2 separate regions of the Homo sapiens genome follow, and region 1 is linked to region 2. The links are contacts of gene promoters, found by promoter capture Hi-C in human tissues and cell types (Jung and others, 2019). All regions are on one chromosome and are shown on one strand. Each heading gives the region's core, a stretch centred on a gene start or on the middle of the fragment in contact. The rest is flanking DNA. Distances are from core to core; before and after follow the strand shown.

Region 1 (3,879 bases), core at 37-2,536, 57 kb before region 2:
ATCTGTGTCCCAAAAGGTTAAGAACCACAGTTCTGGAAGGCATGCAATTAGGCTAGCAAATCATCTCCATCCTAAACATGACCTGAACTGAAACAATCAAGAGAAAGGAAAAGTGCTTCATGCTCCAAAGAAAACAAAAGCCACTTCCAACAGGAATTGGCTGTCACATTCTCTGCACTTGGAAAAAAAAATCAACAGAGCATCCGCCCAGCCTGCCCAAGGCCCATCCCTTAAGCCCAGGTCCCCAGGGAAGGCAGTGAGCTTTTGTTTTCCAGTCTGTGGGCAACTGGCTGGGCAAAGAGCCAGTGGGGAGAGATCTCGATGGAAGAAAATACAGCGATGTGCCGAGTCGAGTGGGCTGGAAGCACCCGAAGGTGGGCCCTGGCTGATGCCGGGACAGAGATGCTGCGATGACCCATCGCAGGAGGAGCCATGTGCTGGCTGCTGCCTTCTCTCCTTCTCTCTTGACTTTGCTCCAGCCAGGATGTTGGGCCTGCTTTTCTCTCTTGGTGCTCCGGGCACCTCAGTATTAATCATGGGCCTCAGTGTTTTTCTAAGTAGATTTTTGGACCCTTCATGGTTGGCAAGTCCATGTTTCTCCCTGGGGCCACCCGTGCTATCAGATCAGAGCACCTGCCTATATTTAAGGTTGTGTCACGTTTGGTTTTCGGCGAACACTCCCTTCGCCTGGCCCTTCTTGCCTTTGTAAGAGAAGGACCTAGGACATGGCAAATGTCCCAGTGAACGCTGGAAGGAGCCCTGAGAGCAAGCGGGAGGGCCCGGAGCCAGCGTGCTGCGCCAGCACTCCGTGTAACCTCCAGGGAGGGCGCAGTCCACACATGTCCTGGCTTCCGAGAGGCAGGCCCTGGGTGTCAGCTCACAGCCATCCGCTCCAGCTCAGCCTCTCCAGCAGCCCCAGGGATTCTCACTGGGCCTGGAGTTGTTGTTTTTCTGTGTTTGCATATATGTCCTATCTTTACAGGAAACCAGGGGGATTCCTGGTTTCCTTCCCCAAATCTGTTTCTCCTCCAAGCTTTCTTATCTCAATAAACAGTGCCTTCATCACCCAGGTGCTCATCTTTCAGGTCCCAGCTGAAGCAGCACCTCCTCCTTGGAAAGATCCTCCCAAGCACCAGATCTGAAGTGACCCCATCACCCACCCACACACCAAGATACCCTCCTTCATGCCAGCCTGTTTGTTGATCACATTCTGTAATTATTTCATTTTTCTGTCTGTCTCCTCACTCAAAATGTAGAGCTGGCTGGGCACAGGGGCTCACGAATGTAGTCCCAGCACTTTGGGAGGCCGAGGTAGGTGGGAGGATCGCTTGAGCCCAGGGGTTTGAGACCAGCCTGGGCAATATAGTGAGACCCTGTCTCTACAAAAAAGAAAATTAAAAAATTAGCCTGAAGTGGTGGCATGGGCCTGTAGTCCCAGCTACTGGGGAGGCTGGGGTGGGAGGATCGCTTGAGCCCAGCAGGTCAAGGTTGCAGTGAGCTGTGATCACGCCACTGCACTCCAGCCTGGGCGACAGAGGAAGACCTTGCTCAAAAAATAAAAAAATAAAAAATAAAAAGTAGAGTCTATGAGGATGGGAACAGCTGGACATACTGTGTTTGTTTCTTTCGATTCACTCTCCAGCCCTCTCCCCTCCTGCCTACAGCTCAGGAGGCTGACCAATGGGGACTGTGCCTCGGGGGTCTCTGCAGACTCCTGGGTCGCCCACGCGCAGTTCCCATCCACGGAGGATCCCCAAGCTCCCAACTCCAAAGGCTTCCGGTTTGTGTCCCCTAAGGGGAGGCACAAGTAGGAGATGAGAGAGTGGAGGACAATGAGGCCAGGATGGCTCCCTCCCTGCTGTGGACCCTGCCCGCTCCCTCTGCTGCAACCCTTACCAGGCTCTAGTAACCACTTTCTCCCCTTGCCTGTCTGGGCAGTAACAGCTGCCATGTGTCACCAACCCTGAAATGCTTCACCATGCCTTCAACTAGTTCCTCTCTGCCCTGCACACATGGCTGCAAATGTCCCTTCATGAAACTCTCCTCAACGACCCTTTTTGAATGTGCCATTTGTTACCTGTCAGGAGCCTGGGGATGGTTCTGATCAATACTGGGGCCACGTCTGACTCATACAGTGTTTCCCAGCAACGTGCTGGGGAATGTCTGGCGTGTCTTAGGTACTTAATGCGTGTGTTTTGAATACATAAATCAATGATAAAGATATTGTGATTTTATTTACATTTTTATTAAGAAAGAATTTATGGGTCGGGTGTGGTGGCTCACACCTGTAATCCCAGCACTTTGGGAGGCCGAGGCAGGTGGATCACTTGAGGTCAGGAGTTTGAGACCAGCCTGGCCAACATGGGGAAACCCCGTCTCTACTAAAAATGCAAAAATTGTCTGGGCATGGTGATGTGCGCCTGTAGTCCCAGCCACTCAGGAGGCTGAGGTGGGAGGATGGTTTGAGCCCAGGAGGCGGAGGTTGCAGTAAGCTGAGATCGCATCACTGCACTCCAGTCTGGATGACAGAGCAGGACTCCATCTCAAAAAAAAAAAAAAAAAAAAGAATTTATGCACCACAAAATTCACCCTTTTAAAGTATACAATTTAGTGTTTTTCAGTGTATTCACAAACATATGAGATGAGACCATTACCACTGTCTAATTTCATCCCCTCAAAAAGGAACTCTGTGCCCTTTGGCAGTGACTCCCCACATCTCCCCTCCCCCTGCACCCGGAAACAACTTATCTACCTTCTGTCTCTATGAACTTGCCTATTTTGGACTTTTCATTCCAATGGAAGTTACAGTATGTGGTCATTTGTGTCTGGCTTCTTTCACTTAGGCACAGTATTCTTAAGGTTCACCCATGGTGGGGCATGTATCAATACTTGATTTCTTTTTATAGCTGAATAACATTCCAGTATATAGAGACAACACACTTTGTTTACCCATTCATCAGGTGATAGACGTTTGGGTCATTTCCGCCCCTTTGGGCTATTATGAGTAAGCTGCTATGAACATCGGCATACTTGTTTTTGTGTGAGCATGTTTTCAATACTCTTGGGTACATATCTAAGAGTGGAATTGCTGGGTCACATGGTAACTCTATGTTTAACTTTTTGAGGAAGCATACTGTGTTTTCCATGGGGCTACCCAGTACTTTCTTTATCCTGTGGTCCCAGTTATTGGCATCTGCATGGAAAAGAACCCAAACAGACAAGGATGTGAATCAAAGGAAGGCTCAACACTGCAGGTCCACTCCAAGGTATACATCCAGGAGACATTCTTGCACACACAAACCAGGCTATAAACGCAGTAATGCTCATAGTAGTATTGTTGGCAAAAAACAAAAAAAAACAAAAAAAAAAACCAATGACCTAATGTCCATTAACAGTAGATTGAGGTGGGTGTGGTGGTTCACACCTGTAATCCCAGCACTTCGGGAGGCCAAGGCAGACAGATCACCTGAGGTCAGGAGTTTGAGAACAGCTTGGCCAACATGGCAAAACCCTGTCTCTACTAAAAATTTAAAAAAATAATAAAAATAAAAAAATTAGCCGGGCATGGTGGCACTCACTTGTAGTCCCAGCTACTCAGGAAGCTGAGGCAAGAGAACTGCTTGAACCTGGGGTATGGAGGTTGCAATGAGCCGAGATTCCACCACTGCACTCTAGCCTGGCCGACAGAATAAGACTCCATCTCAAAAACAAAAAATAAAACAATAGATCAGATAAATACATTGTGGATGATGCATCCAAAAAAAATACGAATGACAGCTACACATAACAGCATGGGTGAATCTCACAAACATATTGTTGAAAGAAACACATCACAAGAGAATACATACATTATGATTTCATTTATACAAAGTTCCAGAA
Region 2 (3,454 bases), core at 115-2,614:
TTAAAAGTTTTTAGAATTAAAAGTCAGGATGCAGAGATTTCTCTTTTAGGCCCCAAATTAATCGAAAAAATATTTCACTAGTATATTTGCTTCAGAGAAATAGAAGTGAACTTTCACAAGTCATTAATCTATTGCTCAAAATAAAATGATCACACACAAACCGAAAATCAAAGCTTCAAACATACACACACCGAAAATCAAAGCTTCAAACCAATCTTTAGCGGCTGCATATCACTAGTTGCCTGGGGTTGGGAGAGAATGACTGCAAAGGGAAAGGAAGCTTTTTAGAATGATGGAAATGGTTTATGTCTTAACATGGATGAATACATTTTTCAAAACTCATCAAAATGTACATTTTAGATAGGCACAATTTACGTATGTACATTACACCTCAATAAAGTTTTAAATATTTAGAAGTCTATCCTGTTTCCTTAAAAAAAAAATTAGTTGCACCATGGTCTCAAAAATAATTTTTAAAATGAGATGTAATGCAACAGACTTGAAGATTAAATAAAACAGTCTTGAATATTTAAGAAAAATGACAAAACATGAGTCAAAAACAAAAAAAAAGGGTTGATTTATGAGTTTCTGGCCTCAAGGTCAACTCAGATTAGGGGGAAAAAAAAACAGTGGAGGCATAATCAAGATGGGGAAGCGTGTGGAGAGAAATCTCAGCTTCTACTCTAGAAGACGAAAACCAAAACCGGTATTACTTCAGAAGGCACACTGGAAAAGCACAGATGTGGGTGCACTTCAGACCTAGGTTCAACGGATCTAAGCTGCTAACTCTATGGCCCTGAGAGTCCTCAACCTGTGAGCCTCAGTTTCCCTTTCTGTAAAATAAAGATAATGATGGCTTAGAGTTTAGCTGAGCACACAGCAAATGCTCGACACATAAGTAATACATGATATTACATAAGGCACCAGAACTCGGAGCTGACTGGAAATGCATGCAAACTAAAGCCCTCCCCCAATCCCACCCCAGTTTCCCTCTGAGGGTCGTGATCCCTTTCTTACGCCTTATCGCCCCCAGCCAAGCCTCCCTTCCTTCCCACATACACTCCACACAGCCTTTTCACCCCTCGCCCCAGCAGCTTCAGAGGCCTCCCACCTCCCAGGCCCCACCTCGTTGAGGAAGCGGGTGACATCGTAGACTCGCCCATGGATCACAAGCCACAGTTCCTTCAAGGAGTTGCGCTTTGCCACCTCCTCCAACCGGTAATAGGTGACTGAGGTCTCGACTTCCTGCCCTTTCCCATCGCTGCCGCTAGCTTCCGCAGTCGCCATTGAACCGGACATACTGCCTCTCCACCGCTAACTGAGATTCCGCGACTACTTTCCTTGAGAGCCCGCGCTCAGCCTTCCTCGGCTTCCGTAACCAGGGCCCATAAGGCCTTGAGACGGTTCCTAGCAACAGCCAATCACACTTCCGAATAGTTCCTGGTTCGTTTTCTTTTCACCAATGAAGGGAGTGGCTCAGTTCGAAATCCCGCCCACTCCTCGCCCGATCCTCCAGATGAAAGTCTGGTTCGAGGTCCAACTAACCAATTAGGGTCGTTCAGCCCCCTCCAACCTCGCCAATCAGATACCGCGATTTTTGGACTGGCGCCCAAAAGAGGCGTGCTGACAGGTGTCACTTCAGGAGAGGTACCACTTCTCTCAGCCTGTGGGCCTTTAGGGTCTCCAGTGTTCTGCTTCCCTTCCCATCGCTGTGGCTTTCTCCTGAGTCTCAGAAAGTTCCTATCCCCTACACTACCGGCGCAGCCTGTATCCCAACCCTGATTTTACATCTTTGCTGCCTCCAGGTCGTGATCTGGCCAATCCCGTCTCTCCTCAATTTCCCCATCAGTAAAATGGGCTTGATAAAGCACTCTCTTACAGAGGGGTTTGCCTTTTTTTTTTTTTTTTTTTTTTTTGAGACAAGTTCTCGCTCTGTCTCCTAGGCCAGAGTGCAGTGGCACGATCTCGGCTTACTGCAAACTCCGCCTCCCAGGTTCAAGCGATTCTCCTACCTCAGCCTCTCGACTAGCTGGAACTACAGGCATGCGCCACCACGCCCGGCTAATTTTTGTATTTTTAGTAGAGAGTAGGTTTCACCATGTTGGCCAGGCTGGTCTCGAACTCCTGACCTCAGGTGATCCGCCTGCGTAGGCCTCCCAAAGTGCTGGGATTACAGGCGTGAGCCACCGCGCCTGGCCCGGTTTGCCTATTTTAATGAGAGTGCCTGTAAAGCGCTTGGCGCATAGTAATCGCTAAACATGGCAGTCGATTAGAAAGGCAATTGCTGTCCCGGACAGCAATTGGGGGTAGAATGTGGAGTATCCTATGTTTCTACCATCATTCAGAATCCGATTTTCAAACGAATTCTGTGATGATCAGGATCAATCGGCACTATTTTAGTCTCTACGTGATCTAAAATAGAATTGAACTCAACTGCTCTCCGCTAGAGGTCCCAGCACTTTGGAATTCCAAGTTTGGTTAAGGTACAGTGTTGTGCGCCACTTTTTAACTGCCATTACAACTGACAGATTGCTCTTCCTATGATGTCGTCGTTTTCATCCTGTCACTCTCGCAGTCTACCATTCAGGGCTCTCCACAATCCATTCGCAACCTCTTTCACTAACGTATAATATTTTCCACCATTCCCTTTATAAGCCTGTTGCACCCGCCCCGACTCTGAAACCTGCTGGTTTAAAACCACATCCGTGGTCATCCCAGGTCCACCAAGTTAATTTTAGATCACTTAGAGACTAAAATAGTGCAGATTGATCCTGATCATCACAGAATTCATTTGAAAATCGGATTCTGAATGGTGGTAGAAACATGGGATACTCCACATTCTACCCTCAATTGCTGTCCCAAGGACTCCTCTTCCTTTCAATGCCTACCGGCTTTTCAAGTTCCTCTTCAGTTTCTTCTATTTTCAAACTTCTCCTACCGTTTTGAGCTCCAGTGCTTCCATCCCTTTGTAGTACCTAAGAAAGCATATTACTATTTTGGGAAGCCTGCTACGTCTGTAAATTTTAACTTTACGTATTTTACCTCCCTAGTTAGACTGACACTATGAGAGCAATCTCACAAGATTCTTAGGATCCTCCACAAACTCTAGATTCAAATATTTACATTTATTCCAGACATTTACTATTTACTGTTACAAGTCTTATGATAGGCATTGGGAGTAGAGAGATAACATAAGAAACAAAATCTCTGAAAGAAATAAAAACATTTACAGGCTGAATGTGGTGGCTCAAGCCCCGTAATTCCAGCACTTTGGGAGGCCGAGGTGGACAGATCACTTGAGCCCAGGAGTTCAAGACCAGGCTGGGCAACATAGTGAGGCTCTTGTCTCTTCAAAAAATACAAAAATTATCTACGCATGGTGGCACACAACTGTAATCCCAGATATTTGAGAGGCTGAGATCTGGGGATGGCTTGAGCCTGGGAAGTCGAGGCT

The links. Contacts are between HindIII fragments. The study calls those that stand out against the background at their distance.
Region 1: a fragment that was not itself captured here is called in contact with the fragment with the promoter of CYB5B in region 2 in 4 of the 25 tissues and cell types used here (bladder, hippocampus, liver and 1 more).

What each region holds. Positions count from the first base shown.
Region 1 is chr16:69,479,129-69,483,007 of GRCh38, reverse strand. No RefSeq gene overlaps it. Among named protein-coding and RNA genes, the nearest start is that of CYB5B, 56 kb to the right of the region's middle. The HindIII fragment of the contact is 7,934 bases long and covers 1-3,879 here.
Region 2 is chr16:69,422,529-69,425,982 of GRCh38, reverse strand. CYB5B (cytochrome b5 type B) reads right to left here and starts at 1,364. Exons shown (of 5, transcript NM_030579.3): 1 at 1,126-1,364. The coding sequence starts at 1,299. RefSeq lists enhancers at 986-1,533, 1,534-2,081. The HindIII fragment of the contact is 13,364 bases long and covers 1-3,454 here.